3 separate regions of the Homo sapiens genome follow, and regions 1 and 3 are each linked to region 2. The links are contacts of gene promoters, found by promoter capture Hi-C in human tissues and cell types (Jung and others, 2019). All regions are on one chromosome and are shown on one strand. Each heading gives the region's core, a stretch centred on a gene start or on the middle of the fragment in contact. The rest is flanking DNA. Distances are from core to core; before and after follow the strand shown. Region 1 overlaps LY6K (lymphocyte antigen 6 family member K). Region 2 holds the start of LY6E (lymphocyte antigen 6 family member E). Region 3 holds the start of PSCA (prostate stem cell antigen).

Evidence for each region. Contacts are between HindIII fragments. The study calls those that stand out against the background at their distance.
Region 1: a contact is called between a fragment that was not itself captured here and the fragment with the promoter of LY6E in region 2, in 2 of the 25 tissues and cell types used here (dorsolateral prefrontal cortex and mesenchymal stem cells).
Region 3: a contact is called between a fragment that was not itself captured here and the fragment with the promoter of LY6E in region 2, in 1 of the 25 tissues and cell types used here (spleen).

The regions. Positions count from the first base shown.
Region 1 is chr8:142,704,444-142,707,750 of GRCh38, forward strand. LY6K (lymphocyte antigen 6 family member K) reads left to right here. Exons shown (of 3, transcript NM_017527.4): 3 at 1-684. LNCOC1 (lncRNA associated with ovarian cancer 1) reads right to left here. Exons shown (of 3, transcript NR_038925.1): 3 at 1-3,136. Among named protein-coding and RNA genes, the nearest start is that of LY6K, 6.0 kb to the left of the region's middle. The HindIII fragment of the contact is 5,820 bases long and covers 1-3,307 here.
Region 2 is chr8:143,016,732-143,019,837 of GRCh38, forward strand. It overlaps LY6E (lymphocyte antigen 6 family member E), which reads left to right and starts at 1,798. Exons shown (of 4, transcript NM_002346.3): 1 at 1,798-1,855. It overlaps LY6E-DT (LY6E divergent transcript), which reads right to left and starts at 1,659. Exons shown (of 2, transcript NR_026913.1): 1 at 1,429-1,659. The HindIII fragment of the contact is 17,617 bases long and covers 1-3,106 here.
Region 3 is chr8:142,679,966-142,682,959 of GRCh38, forward strand. It overlaps PSCA (prostate stem cell antigen), which reads left to right and starts at 530. Exons shown (of 3, transcript NM_005672.5): 1 at 530-598; 2 at 1,362-1,469; 3 at 1,956-2,760. The coding sequence starts at 574. The coding sequence ends at 2,167. RefSeq lists an enhancer at 1,275-1,921. The HindIII fragment of the contact is 7,457 bases long and covers 1-2,994 here.

The DNA.
Region 1 (3,307 bases), core at 612-3,111, 310 kb before region 2:
AAAACTGGCCTTGTTTGATGAGAGGAATGAGCAGGAGCATTGTCATGGTGGAGAAGGGCTCTCTGGTGAAGCTTTCCGGGGTGACGATTTCCTGGGTGTTTTCCTGCTAAATCGTTGGCTGACTTTCTCTATACACTCTCATAATAAGATGTTACTGTTCTTTGGCCCTCCAGAAAGTCAATAAGCAAGATGCCTTGAGCATTCACAAAACGGTTGCCACGACCTTTGCCCTTGACATGTCTGCTTTTACTCTGATGGGACCACGCCCACCTCTAGGTAGTCATTGCTTTGCTTGTGCTTTGCCTTCAGGAGTGTACTGGTTAAGCCACATTTCATCTCCGGCTATAATTATATGAAGAAATGCTTCAGGATCTTGATTCCACTTGTTTAAAATGGCCATAGAACGCTTTTCTCTTATCTGCAGCTGAGCTGGGAGAAAGTTTTGGCACCCACCGAGTGGACAGTTTACTCAACTTTAATTTCAGTCAGAATTGTGTAAGCTGAACACCTTGGGATACCTACAGCGTTGGCTATTGTTTCTGCTGCTATTAATCAGTCCTCTTAAATTAGGGCACAAACAAGATGAATTGTTTCCTCACAGACTGATGTGGCTGGCCTGCTGCTGTGGACTTCCTCTCCAACATCATCTCTTCTCTTCTTCCAATGAGTTATCCACTTACTTAAATTGCTGATTTCTTTGAGGCATTGTCCCTATAAACTTTCAATAAATCATCAATGATTTCACCATGTTTCCAGCCAAGCTTCACCATCAATTGCATGTTTGTTCTGGTTTCAATTTTAGCAGAATTCATGTGTCTGATAGGAGCTCTGTTCAAACTGTTGTCTTATACTTCTTAGGGCCTCAAACTAGATCCTGTTCGGACGTGTTTTCACAAGTTAGTACAAGTTTATTTTGTTGCAAAACAATTTGAAATTCATGCATTCTTTTTCCCAATATGCATTTTCCATGAACATTCTAAAGATCACTCATCCTTCCTCCCCATGTTGTCTATTCAATGTCAGGGAGGATGTGACCCCACCCACTGCTCACCTTTGTCTCCCTTCTGTCCCCACCATCCTGGCCAGCCACTGCCTGGTCTAATACCAGAGGCTGCTGGGTGGGGAAGCCTGGGGAACCTTCCAGATAGAGTTTCTTCGCTATTCCTGAGGCATGGGGAAAAGGCTCATCTCAGTCACATCTGAACACTTCGAACCTGAGGCCAAAGTCCATTCTAGGGGCAGTGGGCAAGGAGGGTCCCAGCAACTCAGGACCAGATAGGACCACCAGCACCTGTCAGGCTCTGCCTGTGTGTCCATCTTTTTGCCCGTCACAGGCTGGTGTTCACATCCTGCCATTCACACCAGCACCCAGAAACAGTAGCCCCAGCTGCTTCCAATTCGCAGCCCTGGGCTTGAGTTTGGGGAGCATTACTTTCATTAAGGCAGGCAAAAGTGGGAACTTCATTCAGAAAGAGCAAGTGAGGTAGGAGGTCAGCCACATGAGAGAGTTTCCATGGCAGCCTTCCATTAGAGTCTCTTCAAATGAAGGATGTAATCTGTGATGTAAAATCATAGCAAGTCAAGAAATGTGAATACGGAAAAATTCGAAATTGGGAACTGCTGGGTCTCTGGTAACACTAGGAGCACTCCCAATTACTTGAGTAAGGGAGATAGAAAATTATTGCAGGGTTAGGAATTAGAATGGATCAAGGAGTTTGCTGTCTCCAGTGTGATAGATGCTCTTTCTAGAAAAGTCACCATGGATGGAAGACAGAACGGAGGGTAGTGTCTAGAAAAGAACAAGGTTCAACACAGATGCTCCATTATGAATGTAAAAGCTCAAGTATTGTTGACCAAAGGTTAAGAGTCAGTCTAGAGTGAGGGATTGGAGAAGCAGGAGATGGTGGCCCAGCTGGTCAGGGAAGGTCCTTACACAGGCAGAATAGTCTAGGGGACAGATCCAAGGCCGAGACACTGACAAGGAGAACAGACACTTCTATCAACATGGAAGAGCAATAGGCAAGAATACAGAGAAAGATCATGTATAGGAAGAGGCCAGGAAGTTGAAAGAATTATCCCCAGCAGTCACATTTTCTCTGTGAAACAGAATACGGTGGTGTCTGCTCAGAGAATGAGGGTACAAATAAGGTTGGACTTTGAGTGCCATGATGGAAGCTTAGGACTATCCCCAAAGGTAAGAGAGAAGGGATATCTTAGGGGACATAACATAGGATAGCCCAGCATTGTGGAGGTCATGGCTAAGACAGGGCATTAAACATTTGCAGAGACCTGCAAGAGTTCGGTAGTGGATTTTCCCCAGCAGCAGCCCATGTTTATGAGGGGGAAAGGCAGATAACAAAAGTACATCTGGGTGTGAGCTAGTTCAGAAGGTCACGATGGAAAGAGAGCAGTTGAGTGATGAACTATGGGAACTTCACTGAATGGAGAAGTCAAAGTAAGGTTAGAAATATCAGTTTTGAAGCAGTACCAAGGCCAGAGGCTATAGATGGCACAGAAACACAGAGCAGATATTGGCAATCCCATGATTAAGAGAGTAGGAAAGAAGGAGATTACAACCACTAAAAATAACCAGAACTTAGTACACAATAAATGAAGGCTCAAAACTAATGGGGAAAGAATGGATTATTGAATAAATGATATTGCTAAAATAGGCTACTGTGTTACTACTAGATCAGGTGTGTGAGTAATGGAAATCCCCACATCATAATGACTTAAACAACACAAGAATGTGTATTTCTTGCTCTTGTAAATGAAGTGAGCAAGTAAGCAGCCCAGGGCTGTGGGCCACTGCTGGAAGGACCCCTTTTCACGTGCCACCACAGCTCGGAGCACACACGGGGAAAGGGGAATGGATGGGTTCCATAAGACCAGCATTGTTTTCAGAATTATAAATTCTCCAAAATATATATGCATGTATATATCATCACCTATGTGTAGGCTTTAAAAACAAAGAAAATTGAAAATTTGAGGTTCCACTTTGAGTCCGGAAAGCAGTCTTCTAAGAATAAGTATGTCAGGGTTTCCAAGAGCTGCTGGTAGCCTGATGGCTGGACTCAGAGGATCACATGAAGACACACTGGAAAGTATCTTGAACATGGGTTTCATGTCTTGATCTCTGAAAACAGAAAACGACCCTCCTGTAATACACATGAAGTAATTCATAAATTTCCAAACAGCTAGACTTTCTGAAAGCTCTGCTTGGTCAAACAAACATGTCCAGGTCTCTGAAATGCCTTTCTATCTCAAGCACTAAAAAACTATTACTGACTAAATTCTTTTATGGTCA
Region 2 (3,106 bases), core at 548-3,047:
TTGGTGTCCAGCTTGAGACATGGCTATTTTTAGACCATAAGCATTAACCTTATAGGTGCCTTGTGAGTGCCTCCTACTCACTTCAAGATGGAGTCACTCTGGTCATGTTTCATTAAACCAGAGGCCTGGTGAGCAAGCGTTCCTCTAACAGTGGGAACCTCAACGTCGGGCCAGTCGGTAAGAAGTTCCAGAGGCTGGCCCTCGCAGCTCATGTGTGTGCATATGTGTGTGTGTGTGTGTGTGTGTGTGTGTGTGTAGGTGTCTGGATCTGACGCTATCTGCAGGTACCGGAATGGTGTTGGAGGACACTCGGCTGGTGTCCGCTGCAGAACTGATGGCTTGCTCGGTGGCGGGGAGACGTCCACCTGCCACATTTGGCCCCAGCAGTCTTGGGAGTCTCCTGTGTTGATGTCTTCTGTGTTGAGTGAGAGACAGGATAAATGGTTTGAGAGTTTTTTCCAAACAGCCCTCCTCCTAATGCAGCTTGTTTTCTGAATCAGAGGGTCCTGTCTTGAAGGGGGCAAACCCACCCGTGCTTTCGTCCCACAGTTCTTACTGAGCCCCTGCCATGGCAGGGATGGCCCCAGGTGCCGGCTGCAGAGACAGAACCCCCTGCCCTCACCGCCAACATTCCAGAGGGGAAGATGCCCTGCCTGTGCCCCACGTAAGACCCAGAGGCAGGGACTCCCCCGGGCCACAGCCTACTGGAGGCTCCTGTCCCCAGAGACAGCTGGGCCATCGCCCCCAAAGCTGTGGAAGCCCCACCCACGATGCCATCATACCACGGCCAGGACATCTCGTGACACACACAGCCCCAGCCTCAGCCTCCATACACACACACACACGCACCACACACACTCACTCATGCAAAACACACACACAGCCACATTGACTGCACCCCTAGATTTGAGACAGGGGTGTTACAGGTGTCTGTCAGCCCCAGCCCCCTCCTGACCACATGGCCACCTGCCCACCCTCACATTTCCGCACACCCTCCCCCTACTCCCGTGTGGGGTTCAGAAGACCCCTCCCTGGTGCTCGCCCTGTCACCCAGAAAGGAAACGCACTGTCAACTGGAGAACAGGCCGGTGGCAGAGCCCCAGCGCCCACAGCCCCTCGGAGAGGGCCTGGCGGGAGGAGAGGCACCCACCGATGGCAGAGCCTCAGTGCCCTCGCAGAAGCCAGCACCCACAACCTCCCACCTCCCAACCCTTGCCGGTCTCCCCACCCCCGCCTGAGGGATGGCCAAGGAACAGCCCAGCCTGGAGCGGGAAGCAGGGACAAGATGACCTCAGGAATCCCAGGCTGCGGGGGTGCCTGCGTCCTCCCCTCCCGAGCTCCACTCCGCAGGCGAGACCCCCAACACTGCTCCCCGACACTCTCCGAGGCACCCCTCCTCCGTGCTCACACCCAAACACGTCTGCTCACCCGTGGGCTTCCCACCCCGAACACAACGAGGACTGTCCAGGTGTCAGTGACGGTCACCCCGACCTGGTCCCCTGTCCGGCCTCGCCAGGTCAGCACCCGCCGCGCGCACAGCAGGGCCGGGTGGAAGGAGGCCGGGCCTGGCCGTGGCTCAGGCGCCACCTCACTGGGGAAACTGGGAGGTGGTCTCAGCCCCCTTCTGGGCCTCAGCTTCCCCATCTATCCCAAGGAGCCGGGGTAGGCCTGGGCGGCGCGGGGACCCCCACCGCGGGCTCGCCGACTCCGCCCGCCGGAGGCCCCTCCCGCGTCCCGCCCCTGCCCCCGCCCCGGGGCCGCGCGGCTGCCTGGGAGGCTCCGGGCCAGCCGCGGTCCAGAGCGCGCGAGGTTCGGGGAGCTCGGCCAGGCTGCTGGTACCTGCGTCCGCCCGGCGGTGAGTCCGCGGGCCCCCGGCCGGGACGCCCCCGCCACCTGCGCGCACGCGCTCAGACCCGGCGGCCTCGGCTGCGGTGCACGCGGCCCCGGCTCAGCCACGCGCGGCGGAAGGCGCCCTGCGGGGGCCGGGGCGGGAGAGGGTGGGAGAGAGCAAGAGGGGCGCACGGGGAGGCGCAGGAGAGGGGCTGGGGCTGCCGGTGGGTTGGTCCCCAGAGAGCTGAGCTTCTCCTCCCATCCCCCGCAGGCCTCCCCGAATGTTTCCAAAGATCTGGGGCGGGAGCGGGCGGAGACTGCCGCCAGGAGCCTCCCGGCCGCCCCAGGGCTGCGCAGCCACTGGAGCCCATCACCCAACTCCAGACGCTCCTGGCTCCTCTACGTGGGCCGGGAGGGACAGCCTTGAGGACTAGGGGAGGGGGCACGGGACCTTGCAGAGCTCCTGGCCGGAAAGGGAGGATTGACCGCCCCCGGCATATCACCCCGGAGCACTGGAACCCGCCCCCGCTTCTTGTTTTGGCACTGGTGGTGCTTGCGGTGAGGTCCAAGGAGCCCAGCCTCCCTGAGTGGACCGCCGGGCCCCTCCCCGTTCCGGGACACAGGAGAGGCTCCCGCCCCTTGCTGGCTGGGCAGCCCCTAGATACCTGGCTCCCAGGGGCCAGCTTCCCTGAGCCTGGGGATGAGCCATGAGCCTGCAGCCTGGGCCCCAGGGGCGCCCCCCACGGCCTGCCGGCTGGCTCCCTCCGGGCTCCATGGCCCACCCGGCCTTCCTAATTGCCTTCGGCTCCCACCGGTGCCTTAGCTCAGCCTGGTGGCCCAGCGGGTTGGGTGCCACCCAGTGAGCAGGTGGCGGCACCAGCTGGACCTGTTTGTGGCCCTGTATGCTAGGACTTCCTCAGAGACAGCTCAGGGACCCCCCCACACCAGAACCTCACTTTAGGGGGGTGGGGGGAAAAGGAATTGGAGATCCTTCCTCCTCGGGCTACTCCCTGGAGGCGGGGATAGGCCCCAGCCGGACTTGGCACTGTTTTTGGCCACCTGGGGCTCCCACTCCCAACCCCAGGATGTCAGCCCAGGTCTCACTGTCCTGGCCTGCTGCTCTCCCCTTAGGGCCTCTGCGGGCCCCTCTCCAGATCTGTTCTCTGAGGCATCCTCCTTACCCCCAGTGCCCAGCACTAGCTCCCCAGGCCCGGGATGTCCCTCCCACTCCTCTGCCCACGGCTGTCCCTGACAGAAGGCAGCAGCCTCCCCCTCC
Region 3 (2,994 bases), core at 470-2,969, 340 kb before region 2:
ATGGCTGGGGGGCCTTAGAATGTTACTTTTGGTTTATACCGGAACAGCCCCTGCCCCTGTCCTTTGCAGCACCTGCTAATGATCTGTCAGTGACGCTGTGACCAAGGCTCATCACCCTGCGGGCCGTGGGCCCCAGAGGGCGGCACAGCTTCTATAGGAGCACAGGGCCCAGGGAGGTGCCCTCATCCTTGGCTGGAAGGCCGAGGCCTGGAGGAGTCTGGAGAAAGGGTCTCCCTTGTCTGGCCTTGCACTGTGAGGTGGGGGAGGTGGGAGAGGCATAATCTGGGTCTTGAGGACGTTTCAGCCCTCAGCCCGGGGTGGCTGAGATATGGCCCTGGGTAGGCTCTGTCCTCCAGAGGTGGAAAGAAGGACAAAGGGAGAGGGAGGTGCAGGTCGCTCAGGGAGGAGACTCGGACCTGCCCAGCCCCGGGGCCCTCACTGGCTCCAGGAAACCCGCTGGTGTTGACTGTGGGCAGTCCAGCCTCTCCCCATTTGAGGCCATATAAAGTCACCTGAGGCCCTCTCCACCACAGCCCACCAGTGACCACGAAGGCTGTGCTGCTTGCCCTGTTGATGGCAGGCTTGGCCCTGCAGCCAGGTGAGGCCTTGGCTGGCCCCCAGCAGGGAAGGGAGCAGGGGTGAGCCGGGGAGGCCAGAGGGATACCTGCAGGGCACACGGAGAGGAGGGGAAGGAAGGAGGAAGGGAGAGGAAGGGGGTGAGGCTCTTGCCCTAGCCTCCGCTCCTCCAGGGAAGCTCTTGGCACGACCAGGCAGCGACCTGTTCCCTGCCGTCCCCTGTGACCGGGGCTTGCAGGGGCAGCACGGAGTCACTCTCCTTCACCACCGTGGGGCAGGGCCTGGCTCCTAGGGGGCAGGTAGACAGACTGACGGATGGATGGGCAGAGATGCTGATGAGGAGCTGGGAGACATGGGACAGGAAGCCTCAGGCTAAGAAGTGGTTTTTGGGGCACAAGGGGGAGGTGCTGGGGGTGTCCTGCGAGGACCCGGGGGTCTACATCCGGCCCAGTCCCAGCACTGCAGCTTCCAAGGGTCCCAGGGAGCTGCTCTGCTTGAGGTGGGACCCTCCCGACCCAGGGTCCCGGGTTCAGTCACCCCCACAGCCGCAGCTTCCTCTTCTGAAACACACGGTCACAAAAGCAGCCACCGAGGGACTAAACAGGGCAACATTTCGGAGGCACTGAGCAGGGGGCCGTGAAGATGGGGAGGAGACATTGAGGGTGACAAGAGGGCGCCGAGGACTTCCTCAGGCCACCGCCATGGAGGCCCACCTGCCTGGGAGCCCCCATTCCTGGGGAGTGCTATGGGGCAGCCTCTGAGGCCCCTCCCACTCCACCCCACAGGCACTGCCCTGCTGTGCTACTCCTGCAAAGCCCAGGTGAGCAACGAGGACTGCCTGCAGGTGGAGAACTGCACCCAGCTGGGGGAGCAGTGCTGGACCGCGCGCATCCGTGAGTGGGGGGACGACAGCCGCCAGGCCTAGGTCTCTGCCACTGAACTATTAATCTTTCTGGCCATCTGTCCGCATCTGTGTGCTGTTTTCCTTCCACCTGTCCCCGACCCGTCCCGCACCTGCACCCCCAACAATCACCCAGCATCTGTCCCTCCAGCCATCCTCCTCCATCTGCCACTCCTCCACTCATCTGTCCCTCCCCATCCTCCATCTTCCACTCCTCCACCCATCTGTCCCTCCCCATCCCTGAGCTCACTTACTCACTCACCCCATTTCTGACGCTCAGCGGGTGGTCCATCTGCCTCGGACATCTGGATAGGGCTGAGACCAGGGCCGAGACCAGGCCCTCGCACTGCTTGCAATCCTGAGGCCAGCCCAGGGGGACTCTAGAGCATTAGGCAGGGTGGGACAGGAGGAGGCCTGGGGCAGGTCAGGCAGGTGAGCACACAGGGCAGCCCCATCCCCGGATCCCGCTGCTCCCCAGGCGCAGTTGGCCTCCTGACCGTCATCAGCAAAGGCTGCAGCTTGAACTGCGTGGATGACTCACAGGACTACTACGTGGGCAAGAAGAACATCACGTGCTGTGACACCGACTTGTGCAACGCCAGCGGGGCCCATGCCCTGCAGCCGGCTGCTGCCATCCTTGCGCTGCTCCCTGCACTCGGCCTGCTGCTCTGGGGACCCGGCCAGCTCTAGGCTCTGGGGGGCCCCGCTGCAGCCCACACTGGGTGTGGTGCCCCAGGCCTCTGTGCCACTCCTCACACACCCGGCCCAGTGGGAGCCTGTCCTGGTTCCTGAGGCACATCCTAACGCAAGTCTGACCATGTATGTCTGCGCCCCTGTCCCCCACCCTGACCCTCCCATGGCCCTCTCCAGGACTCCCACCCGGCAGATCGGCTCTATTGACACAGATCCGCCTGCAGATGGCCCCTCCAACCCTCTCTGCTGCTGTTTCCATGGCCCAGCATTCTCCACCCTTAACCCTGTGCTCAGGCACCTCTTCCCCCAGGAAGCCTTCCCTGCCCACCCCATCTATGACTTGAGCCAGGTCTGGTCCGTGGTGTCCCCCGCACCCAGCAGGGGACAGGCACTCAGGAGGGCCCGGTAAAGGCTGAGATGAAGTGGACTGAGTAGAACTGGAGGACAGGAGTCGACGTGAGTTCCTGGGAGTCTCCAGAGATGGGGCCTGGAGGCCTGGAGGAAGGGGCCAGGCCTCACATTCGTGGGGCTCCCTGAATGGCAGCCTCAGCACAGCGTAGGCCCTTAATAAACACCTGTTGGATAAGCCAGAGAGACCCTCTGTCCTTGCACACCCCAGGCGGGCACCGGATCCAGGGCTGTGTCTGGACCAGGGCCCTGGTCACATGGGCTGCAGCCTCCGCCCTAACAGGAGCAAAGCTTGGCCCCTGAAAGGAGGACGTCCCTGCAGAGGGTGGGAGGGCAGTTCCCAGGACTTGCACTTGCTGTGCTGCCTGGAGCATGTGGCCAGACCTCTCTGAGCCTTGCGACTCATCTATGACCCC